Regions from separate parts of the Homo sapiens genome. Here all the other regions are linked to region 5. Evidence: promoter capture Hi-C in human tissues and cell types (Jung and others, 2019). All regions are on one chromosome and are shown on one strand. Each heading gives the region's core, a stretch centred on a gene start or on the middle of the fragment in contact. The rest is flanking DNA. Distances are from core to core; before and after follow the strand shown.

The links. Contacts are between HindIII fragments. The study calls those that stand out against the background at their distance.
Region 1: a fragment that was not itself captured here is called in contact with the fragment with the promoter of BRD9 in region 5 in 3 of the 25 tissues and cell types used here (aorta, bladder and heart right ventricle).
Region 2: the fragment with the promoter of PDCD6 here is called in contact with the fragment with the promoter of BRD9 in region 5 in 2 of the 25 tissues and cell types used here (bladder and heart right ventricle).
Region 3: the fragment with the promoter of AHRR here is called in contact with the fragment with the promoter of BRD9 in region 5 in 2 of the 25 tissues and cell types used here (lymphoblastoid cells and mesenchymal stem cells).
Region 4: a contact is called between a fragment that was not itself captured here and the fragment with the promoter of BRD9 in region 5, in 1 of the 25 tissues and cell types used here (dorsolateral prefrontal cortex).

The regions. Positions count from the first base shown.
Region 1 is chr5:1,595,547-1,598,246 of GRCh38, reverse strand. It overlaps the pseudogene PDCD6P1. Among named protein-coding and RNA genes, the nearest start is that of LPCAT1, 73 kb to the right of the region's middle. The HindIII fragment of the contact is 3,047 bases long and covers 1-2,700 here.
Region 2 is chr5:270,396-273,095 of GRCh38, reverse strand. It overlaps PDCD6 (programmed cell death 6), which reads right to left and starts at 1,450. Exons shown (of 6, transcript NM_013232.4): 1 at 1,275-1,450; 2 at 324-385. The coding sequence starts at 1,375. It overlaps PDCD6-DT (PDCD6 divergent transcript), which reads left to right and starts at 1,572. Exons shown (of 2, transcript NR_104613.1): 1 at 1,572-1,751. It overlaps PDCD6-AHRR (PDCD6-AHRR readthrough (NMD candidate)), which reads right to left and starts at 1,450. Exons shown (of 13, transcript NR_165163.2): 1 at 1,275-1,450; 2 at 324-385. RefSeq lists a silencer at 1,158-1,367 and enhancers at 1,658-1,747, 2,409-2,700. The HindIII fragment of the contact is 6,729 bases long and covers 1-2,700 here.
Region 3 is chr5:320,264-322,963 of GRCh38, reverse strand. It overlaps AHRR (aryl hydrocarbon receptor repressor), which reads right to left and starts at 1,250. Exons shown (of 11, transcript NM_001377236.1): 1 at 1,145-1,250. All of the region lies in intron 3 of PDCD6-AHRR (PDCD6-AHRR readthrough (NMD candidate)), which reads right to left. RefSeq lists enhancers at 239-358, 447-1,014 and silencers at 599-658, 669-1,048, 1,139-1,628, 1,779-2,038. The HindIII fragment of the contact is 29,634 bases long and covers 1-2,700 here.
Region 4 is chr5:1,815,130-1,817,829 of GRCh38, reverse strand. It overlaps NDUFS6 (NADH:ubiquinone oxidoreductase subunit S6), which reads right to left. Exons shown (of 4, transcript NM_004553.6): 4 at 1,782-1,979. The coding sequence ends at 1,914. Among named protein-coding and RNA genes, the nearest start is that of NDUFS6, 15 kb to the right of the region's middle. RefSeq lists enhancers at 1-315, 316-817, 1,539-2,050. The HindIII fragment of the contact is 9,600 bases long and covers 1-2,700 here.
Region 5 is chr5:891,375-894,074 of GRCh38, reverse strand. It overlaps BRD9 (bromodomain containing 9), which reads left to right and starts at 1,274. Exons shown (of 16, transcript NM_023924.5): 1 at 1,274-1,469; 2 at 2,221-2,435. The coding sequence starts at 1,418. TRIP13 (thyroid hormone receptor interactor 13) reads right to left here and starts at 1,191. Exons shown (of 13, transcript NM_004237.4): 1 at 985-1,191. The coding sequence starts at 1,076. RefSeq lists silencers at 905-1,524, 1,715-1,933 and an enhancer at 1,273-1,905. The HindIII fragment of the contact is 22,788 bases long and covers 1-2,700 here.

The sequences.
Region 1 (2,700 bases), core at 73-2,572, 700 kb before region 5:
AAGCAGCCAATCCCAGCATTGGAACCAACAGGGCATAATTCCACCTGCTTCCATCACCACCATCCGCCCTGGAATTAGGCCGGATATTCCAATTTGGGGGATCATTTAGGTTATTCATGGAGATATACCTTGAAGTAAAGAATAAAAACGTTAACTACTTTTATTCAAGAAATTTTTCTTCAGTTTTAACTATGTGCTTGCTGCACAGCACTGAGGCCCTACGGGATTCAAAGAAGAAAAAAACTAGACCAGAGCCGGGCATGGTGGCGGGCACCTGTAGTCCCAGCTACTCGGGAGGCTGAGGCAGGAGAATCGCTTGAACCTGGGAGGTGAAGGTTGCAGTGAGTCGAGGTCGCGCCACTGCACTCCAGCCTGGTGACAGAACGAGACTCCGTCTCAAAAAAAAAGAAAAAGAAAAAGGAAAAAAAAACAAGACCTTAGGTGAAAGCGACTCACAATCTGGTTGGGGAAAGTGGAGAAAACAGACATGTCTTAAGCATCTGAAGTGCAGGTAGAATCAGGTAAGTTCTCTGGTACAAATATATTTAAATGTATGGCTGCTGCGATGGTTAATTTTGTTTGTCAACTTGACGGCATCATGAGGTGCTCAGATACATGGTTAAGCATTATTTCTGGGCGTGTCTGTAAGGGTGTTTTTGGATGAGATTAGCAATTGAACCTTTAAACCAATTTCTTACGTCTCCCTTCTATTTGTTGTGTCTCTGGAGAACCCTCATACAGTTGTATCAAAGATACAGAATCAACTCAATAAAAGTGGGCTCACACCAGACACTTTCATATGAGCTAGGGTTTGAAGAGTGAGCAGCATTTTGACAGGCAGAGAAAGAAGGAAAGGGTCTTCTGATCAGAAGGAAGACTGTGAGGAAGGCAGGGAGGGGTGATGTGGGGAAGGTGCAAACAGTGCTAGAAGCTTCTGAGGCCTCCTCATGGTGGTGATGAATGCAGAGATTACAGAGCTCTCTGCTTCGGGCTCAGCATGCACCCTCCATAGCTAGGCTGGGGGCTAACGTTAGTAAGAATTTACTGATTTACTGAGTACCTACACGAAGTTTCACATTTTCACAAAGTAGAGTCACTTTAAGTTTATTTACATGTGACCTCCACAAATACACACAATTACAAAATAGTCAAGGGATGTATAATAAGCAAGAAATGCAATCCAATTTCTGAAAGCTTTTCATGGGATTTTCAACAAATACTTAATATCTAAAGATAGAAAATTATAAGCAATAAAGATATGACAAAAATATGTCTTGGAGCTTAATACTAAGGGGTTTGTGGTGTGGAGAAAAGCAAGAGAGATCAGATTGTTACTGTGTCTGTGTAGAAAGAAGTAGACATAGGAGACTCCATTTTGTTCTGTACTAAGAAAAATTCTTCTGCCTTGAGATTCTGTTAATCTATAACCTTACCCCCAACCCCGTGCTCTCTGAAACGTGTGCTGTGTCAACTCAGAGTTAAATGGATTAAGGGCGGTGCAAGATGTGCTTTGTTAAACAGATGCTTGAAGGCAGCACTCTCCTTAAGAGTCATCACCACTCCCTAATCTCAAGTACCCAGGGACACAAAAACTGCGGAAGGCCACAGGCACCTCTGCCTAGGAAAGCCAGGTATTGTCCAAGGTTTCTCCCCATGTGATAGTCTGAAATATGGCCTCGTGGGAAGGGAAAGACCTGACCGTCCCCCAGCCCGACACCCGTGAAGGGTCTGTGCTGAGGAGGATTAGTATAAGAGGAAGGCATGCCTCTTGCAGTTGAGACAAGAGGAAGGCATCTGTCTCCTGCCCGTCCCTGGGCAATGGAATGTCTCGGTATAAAACCCGATTGTATGCTCCATCTACTGAGATAGGGAAAAACCGCCTTAGGGCTGGAGGTGGGACCTGCGGGCAGCAATACTGCTTTGTAAAGCATTGAGATGTTTATGTGTATGCATATCTAAAAGCACAGCACTTAATCCTTTACATTGTCTATGATGCAAAGACCTTTGTTCACGTGTTTGTCTGCTGACCCTCTCCCCACTATTGTCTTGTGACCCTGACACATCCCGCTCTCGGAGAAACACCCACGAATGATCAATAAATACTAAGGGAACTCAGAGGCTGGCGGGATCCTCCATATGCTGAACGCTGGTTCCCCGGGTCCCCTTATTTCTTTCTCTATACTTTGTCTCTGTGTCTTTTTCTTTCCTAAGTCTCTCGTTCCACCTTACGAGAAACACCCACAGGTGTGGAGGGGCAACCCACCCCTACATGTGGTAATTATAGAATTAAAAAATTAAGGCCAGGCACGGTGGCTCACGCCTGCAATCACAGCACTTCGGGAGGCTGAGGCAGGTGGATCACCTGAGGTCAGGAGTTTGAAACCAGTCTGGCCAATATGGTGAAACCCTGTCTCTACTAAAAATACAAAAACTAGCTGGGCGTGGTGGCGGGGGCCTGTAGTCCCAGCTACTCGGGAGGCTGAGGCGAGAGAATCTCTTTGTTTTTTGAGGGGCAGTCTTGCTCTGTTGCCCAGGCTGGAGTGCAGTGGCTCGAACTCCGCTCACTGCAAGCTCCACAGGAGAATCTCTTGAACCCTGGAGGCAGAGGTTGCAGTGAGCTGAGATCGCGCCATTGCACTCCAACCTGGGCAACAACAGCAAAACTCTGTCTCAAACAAAACAAAACAAAATTAGGTAATT
Region 2 (2,700 bases), core at 201-2,700, 620 kb after region 5:
CTCCAACTTACCAAAAGGCTTTCGGCTGTACAGAGCTAAGCTTCCTATTCCCCTCCTAAACCTACAATCTAGTTTTCATTTCTCAAGAAGCCTTTCCCTGTGCTCACGCACGCAGTTGTTAGCTGGCTCGGTGAGGCACTCCAAGCAGTAACAGCGGTAGCCACAAAATAAACCAGAAGCATCTCCACTACGAAGCAGTAATAACAATTTGTCCTAATGATTCCTTTGTCCTTGGAAAAACAACTTCAGAAAGTTATCCACTGTGAACAGGGCAGGCTCGCGGCTTCTTGGTCCGGAGACCCAGTTCCCACTGGCCCACTCACCGTTGGAGAGAGCTTGCTGAAGCTCGGTGTCTGATATCACTCCACTCCTGTCTTTATCGACCCTATAACATCAAGAAGACCAAATAAGCTGGCGATCGAAAGTTCAGGAAAAGCAAAACAAACGTCTTCTGTCAACCCTGCACCGACTCTGGAAGGCTCCCTCCTGGAACCTCCGCCTCTCCCGTCCCGCTGAGGAGTACAGCGGAATCAAGGAAGTGCCCCAGGAGCCGACGTCCAGTGTGGTCTTCCCCTAAGAGGACAATCATCTTCACCTCAATCCTTCCCTTCCTTCCTCTCCTGGCCTGTCTGAATTCCCATTTGCACCCGTTTCCCTTTTTCACAGACAAGACAAGATTCCCTCAGATAACTAAGCCATTCCCTGGCCATCAGTCACTACAGTTTCGGACATTCGGTGGAAAAGCGACCAGGGACAGAAGGCGCCGCCATAAAGGTCACCTGGCCCGAGCAGACGCCAGGTCGCTGCTTCTTCCTTGGCTGCTGACATTTTAACAGCGCCCAGGCAGTCTGTTTCCGCTTTCCCCAAACAAGCACCCTGGAGACCCTCCACCTGGCGGCTCTTGAGGCGAGAAAAAGGGCCTAGCCCAGGAGCCGGTGGCCGCGACCTCGGGTCTGCAGTGGCGCACTCTGCATCTTGGGAAGGGCCCGACGCACAGGACAGGGACCGGGCAGGAGGCAGGGGCGGCCCCAGGAGACCGGGCAGCGGACGGGGGAGACCGCGGGGGACCCGCCAGGGGACGGGGGCGGCCGCGTCGGCTGGGGCAGGGGTCGGGGGCGGCGGCAGGGGACGGGAGGGGGCCGCGGGGGACCCGACAGGGGACGGAGGAGGCCGCAGTAGAACCGGCAGGGAACGGGGTTGGTCGGGGGAGTCGGGACAGGGGTCGGGGCCGCCGCGGCGGAGGCGGGAGGTGCCCGGGCGGTGCCAGGCCGCACCTCTGGAAAACGTTCCACAGGAAGCTCTGGTCCGGCAGCGCCGCGCCTGCAGCAGGCCCAGGGCCGGCCCCAGGGCCGGGGCGGTAAGAGTAGGCGGCCATGGGCCAAGGCACGCGGCTGGGCTGAGGCGCCTGCAGCGACGAGAGACCTCTCAGGCCGACTCCGCTTCCGCCTCTGCCGGGGGCAGGGCCTGGCATTATCACCACTTCCGGGGGCGCAGGAAATGCGTGGTCTCCGGGATGGTCACGGGGTCCCGCGCAGCCAATCCCCTCGCAGCTAAGTTGCCAGGCAACGCCCTGGCGCCTGCGGGGAGGGCGGGGTCTGGGCGCCTGGAGGAAGCCAGAGCTTTGGCGCAGGCCGCCTGCGCGCTGTGCCAGGAAAGCGCTTGGAGAAAATGTCCGGCCCCGCGACCTGGGACAGGAAGTGATGGAGCACGGACTTAGTTTGCCTTTCAGTTCTTGTATAAATAGTTTTGAGGTGAATGTGATTTGCTAACAGTCGGAAACTCTGGGCGGGGCGCGGTAGCTCACACCTGTGATCCCTGCCCTTTGGGAGGCGGAGGCGGGCGGAGCTCTTGAGCCCAGCAGTTCGGACCAGCCTGGGCAGCATGGATAGACCCCATCCCTACAAAAATTACAAAAAGTAGTCGGGCGTGGTGGGCTCCTGTGGTCCCATCTACTCCGTGGGCTGAGGCGGGAGGATTGCCTGAGCCCGGGAGGTCAAGGCCGCAGGGAGCCGAGCTCACTGCACTACAGGGGTGGACAGCGAGACTCTGCCAAAAAAAAAAAAAAAAAAAAGAAAGCAAAAGCAGGCCGGGCGCGGTGGCTCACGCCTGTAATCCCAGCACTTTGGGAGGCCAAGGCCAGTGGATTACCTGAAGTCGGGAGTTCGAGACCAGCCTTGGCCAATTGGGAGACACCCCGTATCTACTAAAAATACAAAACTAACCGGGCGTGATGGTGCACACCTGTAATCCCAGCTACTCGGGAGGCTGAGGCAGGAGAATTGCTTGAAACCGGGAGGAGGAGGTTGCAGTGATCCGAGATCGGGCCATTGCACTCCAGGCCTGGGCAACAAGTGCAAAACTCTGTCTCAAAAAAAAAAAAAAAAAAAAGTCAAAACACAATTCGGGTGGGAAAGGCAGTGTGCAGCATTCTCGGTTGTCTGTTCCGCCCCCAAAAGCTTCCCTCCTTTAGGTTTAACCTGCGCCCCCGTGCTCTGCATCAGCGCGGCCCCTGACCCCGTGCAGCTGGAAACACTGCTGGGCCCCTTCACACCCCTGCCTGCTGGGCCCCTTCACACCCCGGTGGTGGTGCAGCCCTGCCTCCCGCAAGACAGCACTGCCTTCGTGCTGGACACAGTTCTAAGGTGGAGCCTGGAGTGCCTGTAGCACAAATCCCGGAATTGGGAAGTGCCCAGCTTTGGG
Region 3 (2,700 bases), core at 1-2,500, 570 kb after region 5:
CTAAGAACCTTTCTCCCGTGGTAAAACTCGTGTCTGTTCATTTTAGAGAATACAGATAAGTAAGAAAACGAAAATAAAAGCCGTTCCCCAGGCGGTGGCGTCCCCCCCGTCGAAGCGGCTCCCCAGGCGGCGGCGTCCGCCGGGTCAGCATCCTACGTTCTCCAGTTCTTGTTACTCGTGGCTTTTCAGCGACTCTGGGGCCGCATCGAGCCCCGGCTTTGTGCGGGATGGGTATGGCACACTCGGCCCGAGTCCAAACGCCGCCAGTCACTTGCTCTGAGAGGCTGGATGAGCGACCTACCTTGATGTCCTCGTTCGTAAAATGGGTGACGGTTGCCAGGCCGGGGCGGCTGTGAGGCCCCGTGGGGGTGGCGTTTGGAGAACGCGCGCACACGCCCACCCTTCTGCAAGAACCCCGCAGACGAGAGCCTGTGCGCGCGCACAGGAGGCCCAGGGAGGAAGCCCCTCCCCGCCTGCCCTTGCCATCCCGGAGGCCACAGCCGGACAGGCCCGTGGGACAGGCCCGTGGGACGCTTCTGCACAAGGTCTCTGACCTCCGGCCTCGCAGAAGAGGTCAGAGGGTGGCCCCTGCCTGTCACGCGCCCATGGCGACCCCTCCCCAGAAGGGGTCCCAGCGTGGACTCCAGGCGCCACATCGCTCTCTCAGGGCATCCGGTCTGGGAATTCTGGCCGCTCAAAATAAGACTTCAGCGCTACTGGGTGCTACTGAAACCAAGCCTGAACATGGGCCTTTCCCGGGGGTGAGGCCCCCCGGACCTGGCGCCCTCGGCCCGACAGCGGGGCCCCGCTCCGCCGCCCGCACCCGCCCAGCCCCAGGGAGCGCGGCCCGCACGGAACGCCCGGGGAGTGAAGGCTCAGAACACTCTCGAGGGGACGCTGAGGACCACGAACCGTGGACGCGCCGCGGCTTCCCTCCGAGGTCCGAGTTTTAAGTGAGACCAGCCAGCCGCACCCCAGAGTGTCCGCCCCGTCCCGGGGCCGCCGGGCCTGGCGACGCGAGGATGCGGCGTGAGGAGGGTCCCGACGCCGGCGCCCGTCCCTCAGCCCCACACCCGGGAGCGCATCCCGTCTCCACCGCGGGCGGCACGCGGCGGGGGCCTGCGGGGGCGCCCAGGACACTTACCCAGGGCCTGCGGGGCGCGGAGGCTCAGGCACACCCGCGGGGCAGCGCGCCCTGGCCAGGAGCTGTGGCGGCGGGTGCCGGCGCTCGCATCCCGGGAACCCGCGGCGGCTCCAGGGACTGCCCCACCCCGGCACGCGAGCCGCCCGCCCCGCCCCGCAGCATCCAGGGCCGGGAGGCGGCAGAGGGCGCCCGCGGGTCCGGCTGTCTCGGGTCCGGCTGCCCCAGCTGCCCTGGCGAACCGGAGACGCCATCCGGTTCCCCTGGGGTCCGCCCTGCGCCCTTCGCGTCCCAGTGATCCCCCGGAGTCTCCGTGCCCCGAGGCGGGGGTCGCGCGCTGAGCCCCTCCAGGCCCTGCGTTCCCCCTGGGGTCTGTGTGCGCCCAGGGTCCCCCGGTTCTCCCTGCGCCCCCGTCCCCTCCCCAGCGCTCGCGGCCGGCTGTGCTGAGCTGCCGGCCCTAGAGCCGGGCGGTGTAGACCCGAACAGGTAAAGTGAGGAGAGCGTGTGCCCCCTCGCCTGCCCCATGAGGTCGTTTCGAAAATGTAAAAGGAGTCATGGTTTTTGGCGAATTATAGAGAATATTAAGATGCTTTTGGATCCTGAGCTTCCCAGGAAGCGGACGCGCGCCAGGCACGGCAGGGTCGTCCGTGCGACGTTCTTCGTCCTGGGCATTTCAGGGTCCCACGCGGCAGGTGTGCGGCCCTGGGTGCCCCTGCCCCGCCCACCCCGCCGGTCGGCACCCGGGACCGCGCGGCCGAGAGCAGGGTCCTGCCTGCAGGTCCTTAGGGCTCACCCCGCGCCCTCTGCGCGCCCGCCGGCCCCTCCGACCTCGGGCTGCGCCTTCTCCTTCCCCCTCCCGGTGGTCCTTGGCCCCCTCTAGTCCTCCGTCCGGGCGCGCAGGCCCTGGCTGAATTCCCTGTACCCTCAGGGGATCCCTGGGGACACCTCAGCCTGGCCTCGCACCCTGACGTCTCCACAGACCCTGGCCGGCTTCCACCCGTTCTCGCCCTCGCTGGGGCCGGCCATGGAGTCGGTGGTCCCTGGAGTCCGCTCCTCAGCATCCGCGGTCCTCATCCCAGCCGGGGGAACCGCGCCCTCTTCATCCCGCAAGGTCGGTTTTCAGCAACGCGGCCGAGGCTGTCACTGGCGCCCCCAGGTTCTCAGTCAAACCCCGTCTCCCTGACGCCCCCAACCCGCCCCGCGCCTCCTGCTGTTCTCTGAATAAGGCGTGCGGGCCTTGGGGCCTTTGCACTCGCTGTCTGCTGTCGGCTCAGGAAAAGTCTCTTTTCCAGACACAGCTCCCAAGGTGGGGTGGGCGCAGCTGAGAAGCCCACCCTGCCCCCAAGTGGCCACCGCCCCTCCCCGGGTGTAGCTCCTGCAGGGCAGCCCAGAATTGCTGAGTTCTGCCGCTCTGTCCCCAGGGGTCACCAAGTCGGCTCTGCTCACCTCTGGTTCCTGTCGAATAGCAGAGGCTCAAAAATGTGAGCTGAGTAAATGGGCTTTTTTGGGACAGAGTCTTGCTTTGTCACCCAGGCCTGAGAGCAGTGGTGCGATCTCAG
Region 4 (2,700 bases), core at 27-2,526, 920 kb before region 5:
GCTCTGAGTCCTCGCTCCTCCCTTCTCTCCCCCTTCCCCTGGCCCCACCCCTTCACCTCTCCCCATCCCTGGTTATTCTGCATCCACATTTTCAGTTTCCTGGCCTGCTGCTCTTCCCTCTCTGGGCCCTCACGGGGACAGCTCACAGATGTCGCCACAGTTATTTCGAATCCAGGTGGCATCAATGTACTCCATCACATCTGTCTCCATTTTGTTTTCACGCCACTCCAAGAGGGAGCTTCAGCCTCCTTCCACCTCCACCCACCCAACCCAGAGACCTCCTGGATGCCTGCATCCCCTTCTTCCCTCTCCCCCTCCCAGACCTCCCAACTCAGCACCAAGGGCAACATGATTGGACTGTCCCTGCAGCCCGGGAGCATGGCCTCACACGCATGTCTGGGTAGCGTGCCACTGGAATGAACTGGTTCCCACTAGCAGCCGCTCCTGCCTCAGCCTCCCTCCCCACACCGAGGGCTGTGATCATGTCTGCTGGGTAAGGCCTTCTCCTCAAGGTATCTTCCCCAGTGGGGTCCAGGATGATGACCTCTGAACTCTCCCACATCCAAGAATGTCTTCCTCTCAGGATAAGGAATTTAACTTTGGTTATGCATGAAGATTGTGGACAATGTTTCACTCTTCCAGCCTCCAGCATCAAAGACAAAGAGGTGGATACCTGATCGCTGATCACTTTTCCACTACAATTTGTTTTCATCCATGCGCTTAAAAGGTTTTCTTTTTTCTAGACTCTAAAGTTTACAGCTTAATTCTTTTCTTAAACCAGAATATGCCTAGTTGTCTTTTCTCACCAATACTGCTAGGAACTTGGTGAGCCCTGTGATCTGTGGGTTTTTCTTTGGCTTGGGAAATGTGTTTCTGCTGTTTCTGCCTCACCTTCCCTCTCACCATCCCTCTCACCTTCCCTCTCACCTTCCCTCTCGCCTTCCCTCTCGCCTTCCCACTCGCCTTCCCTCTCGCCTTCCCACTCGCCTTCCCTCTCGCCTTCCCTCTCGCCTTCCCTCTCGCCTTCCCACTCGCCTTCCCTCTCGCCTTCCCACTCGCCTTCCCTCTCGCCTTCCCACTCGCCTTCCCTCTCGCCTTCCCACTCGCCTTCCCTCTCGCCTTCCCTCTCACCTTCCGTCTCACCTTCCCTCTTACCTTCCCTCTGCTCTGGTATTTCCTCCTCTGGAATTCCCGTTACTCACAGGCCAGACTCCTGGATCATTCTAGCAAGACTCCTTTCTCTTCCCTCAAAATCTACTTTTATTTTTATGTTACACTACATTATAATCCTTACTCTTTTAAAAACATAGACTGTCCTTAATGTGGCCAGTATGTGACTTTCGATGCCTTCAAACCAGTGCTTAAATTCTTGGGTTTTAAGATCTGACATTTCAACATAGGGACTAGGACGGACGGATAGACCAGCTCTGCAAGCCAGCAACAGGAGAGAGGCTGACCTTCCCATAGGACCAGTTGAGGCCTGGGCACCCTCCTTCACTATGCACCTCAAGACCCACCTTGGCTCTCTGAAGCACAGTTGCATCTGCAAAACAAGAGGCACTTCTCCTTCTCCTTCCCTGCCCCCCGCCCATTCCTGCAGCCCACGTGGCCCCAAGGATAAGAGGAGACACACAGAAGCAGCCGGTAAGGCAGGCAGCGGCCGGCAGGAGGCAGCTCAGGCTCACTGGAGCGGGCACTGCTTCCACTCGCATGTCTACCCATGTCCACGTGGATGTTCACTTCCAAAGCCCAGACTATGAAAGAAACAAACTTACAAATTGTCAGCCTTGACAGCAACACCCTTTATTCAGCACCAGGAATACCCTTCGCACAGAACCAGCGAGCTTCACGTGCTCAGCTTCCCCGCGGAAATGCTCACAGGATGCTGCGGGACCCCCGGCGTGCCACACGCTCTAGTGGTGGTGCTGTCTGAACTGGAGCCCACAGTAACCGCATGTGCCGGTTTTTGTTTCTTTGTCCTGAAAAAATTCAAAAGGAATGATGTCATATTTCCATATTCTACTTCAAATCTAGATATTAAGCATTGAAAATGTATGTATAAAACTTAGACTGTCAGAAACAAAAATACGCAGTTACTACTGAAGTAAGAATGCAGACTGTCGATCTCGGTTCCAGGCTGACCGAAGCCCCTGGCCTCAGGCTCCCACCCCGGGCTACGCAGCCATCCCCTAGGACCCCCAGGGACATCACTGTCAGCCTGCAGCTCCATTCACTCCCCACACCTCAGCGGCCTGGAGCAGGCGGTGGGTGCTGCACACGACAGTGAGGCACAACCAGGCTTGGCCTTCAGGGCTGGAGCCCAGGAGGGGACATGCCGGGTGCCCAGTCCCACTCTAGGCTGCTTAACCATTTATGCCTGTTACACTGTCCCCTTTTCAGGACAGGCAACAAGATAATGACAGCTTTTAATAAATGTCAGCTCTAACGAAGTTAAAGTCCCTTAACCAGGACTCTGCTTTGGGGAGAACACCAAGCCCAGCAGCCGCCTGAGTCCCTGAGTGCTCCACTGTCGGTGGCCTCCCCCTCTCCCTGCACCCCAGGTCAGCAGCCGCCCGAGTCCCTGAGTGATCTGTGGCAGCCTCCCTCCCACCCTGCACCCCAGTTCCACATCCCAGCTTCAGCCCACGGTCTCTTTCTCCGGTCCTGTGTTCTTTTTTTTCTCAATGGTCCTGTATATGA
Region 5 (2,700 bases), core at 25-2,524:
TAGTGCGGTTGTGTGCAGGTGTCTATGAACTCTGGTGCAGTTGTACGTAGGTGTCTGTCCTCTAGGTGCAGCTGTGCTCTGGTGTGATTATGCCTAGCGTCTCTGGGCCCAGGTGTGGTTGTACATGGGGTGTCTCTAGGCTGCGGTGGCACTGTGTACAGGTGTCTCTGAGCGCTAAGGTGTTTACACAGGTGTCGCCAGGCTGTGATGGGGCTTTGTGCAGGTGTCTCTGGGCCCTGGTGCAATTATGCTGACGTGTCTGAACTCCAGCACCTAGAAAATACCCAGTCAACAGCTATTCTGTTAAAGGAAAGGTCTCTTCCTCTGCATCCCCTCTGAGGCTGGTGGTCTCACCTGACCTCAATCCACCCTCCGTGGACATAAGGAGGGTCTGTGAAGGTCTGGCCCCGCCGCTGAGTTCCCCCCACTCCAGGGAGCAGCACAGCCCACAGGCCCCACCATACCATGAACTGACTTGGTCACAAATGAGTGGGATGTGCTTTGAACCCTAAAAATTTAACATCGAGTCCGTGAGGAACGGGAACAATTAAAGGGTCTGAGAAGCAGTGGCTCAAAGAATAACCACCCAGCTTTCGGCTGAGACTAGAGCTCTCTGTAATGCGCAGCCATCCTATTCTCCAACGTGGGACTCAGGGCCACATCAATGCACTGGAGGACAGCCGGGGCAGGGGCAGGGTCAGGGCCAGGTCCGTGAGCTGAGGTCGGGTCGGGGCTCAATCTGTGAGCTGGGGTCCTGCGCGCAGGGCTCGGGTCGGCCGGGTCAGTGCCCTGCGGTGGGGTCGCGTCATTGCGCTAGGATCCGGTCGGGGCCCGGCGGCCTGTGCGCCCGGGTCCAGTCGGGCCGGATCAGTACCCTGGGGTTCGGTCGCATCAGAATCAGTGCGCTGGGGTCGGGGCTCGGTGCACGCGCTGGGGTCGGGGCGGGTGGGTGCCCAGAGGATGTGTCGGACAGGTCCGGCTCACCTGCTGCCGCGCTGATGCACCTCCACGTGGACCGTTGGCGACTCGGCCACACAGGGAAGCGCCTGCTTCAGGTCGCCCACGGCCTCGTCCATGGCGCCCCCGAGAGCAGTGGGGACCCAACCAGGGCGCGGCCGCCGCCACCTCACGCCCAGCGTCGCCGCCACAGCCGCTGCCTCAGCCCGCGGGCCCCGCCCTAGCTTCGAATCTGCCGCGCGAGGCGCACCACCTCCTGACCCGGAAGCGCTCGGGCCCGGCAGGGCCACTTCCTGCCGCGGCCCCGCCTCGCCCCGTTTCCGGCGCGGCCCAGCGAGCTCGGCAACCTCGGCGCAGCGAGCGCGGGCGGCCAGCCAGGGCCAGGGGGCGGTGGCGGCCAAGGTCCGACCGGGTGCCAGCTGTTCCCAGCCCCCGCCTCGGGCCCGCCGCCGGCGCCGCCATGGGCAAGAAGCACAAGAAGCACAAGGCCGAGTGGCGCTCGTCCTACGAGGGTGAGGCGGCGGCGCTTTGTGACGCGCGGCGGGCGGGGTCCCGGGCACGGGGGAGGAGTTCCGGGCACGCGGACGGGGGTCCTGGGCACCGGGCGAGGTCCTGGCCACGAGGGAGGGGTTCTGGGCACGCGGGAGGGGGTCCTGGGATTTCGGGCAGGGAACCGGGCACACGTGAGGGGTCCTGGGTAGGCGCTTACGTTCCTGGTAGAGGGTTCTGGGTTCGAGGCTGCAAGCCCACTCACCCCGGTCCTGGAGACTAGGGAAGCATCTGTGCTGGCTTTTGTGTGGAGCTCAGGGAGAAGCTGGGCTGCCCTTTCTCCCGCCTTTCCCTCCCTCTCCCTTGCTCCCGCAGCAGCTCCATGGGTGTCAGCGGGCAGCACGGGCGCCTGCAGGAAGTCAGGCGAGGGTGAACCGAAGTGCTGGGGGTTTCTAGGAGGGAGATCGGGCTCCGGGGTTCCAGGTCCCTCTTAATCCATCTTCTTGAACGAGTAATGTGAACAACATCCCACAGGGCCTCTGGTGAGGACACCGTGGCTCGAAAGGGACCTGAAGCTCCCTGCGGAGGGGAAGGGAGAACAAGGAGGCAGTGACATGCCGCCACTGTGGTCTTCCCTTCCGTCTTTCCCTGCTGGTTGGCAGCCCCGCTGTACTCCTTAGGGAGGCCTTTCCCTCTTAGCACCTTCACGTCTCACCTGGCTGCGTGGCGTTTGCACCTGAGCACGCGGGTAGAACTCGGTCTGTGTCTGTGCAGATTATGCCGACAAGCCCCTGGAGAAGCCTCTAAAGCTAGTCCTGAAGGTCGGAGGAAGTGAAGTGACTGAACTCTCAGGATCCGGCCACGACTCCAGTTACTATGATGACAGGTCAGACCATGAGCGAGAGAGGCACAAAGAAAAGAAAAAGAAGAAGAAGAAGAAGTCCGAGAAGGAGAAGCATCTGGACGATGAGGAAAGAAGGAAGCGAAAGGTAAAGGAGCAGCGGCGGTGGCCCGGACGCTGCCCACGAGGAGCCCGTGGGGAGCCTGGTCCCAGGACCCAGGCAGAGTGCGCCTGCGTGGCTGGAGGAGGGGAGGGGGTGTTCCGTTGGTAGCAAAACGCGAACCGCTGAGGCCCGCAGACTCAGTTCCAGGATCCTGGGTGTGCTGTTCCTCAGCAGACCCTGCCAGGGTCTCTGTGAGGAGGGAGCCTGGCATGAGGAGGATCTCGGAGGGGGTTTCCCTTAGTTCTGTCCC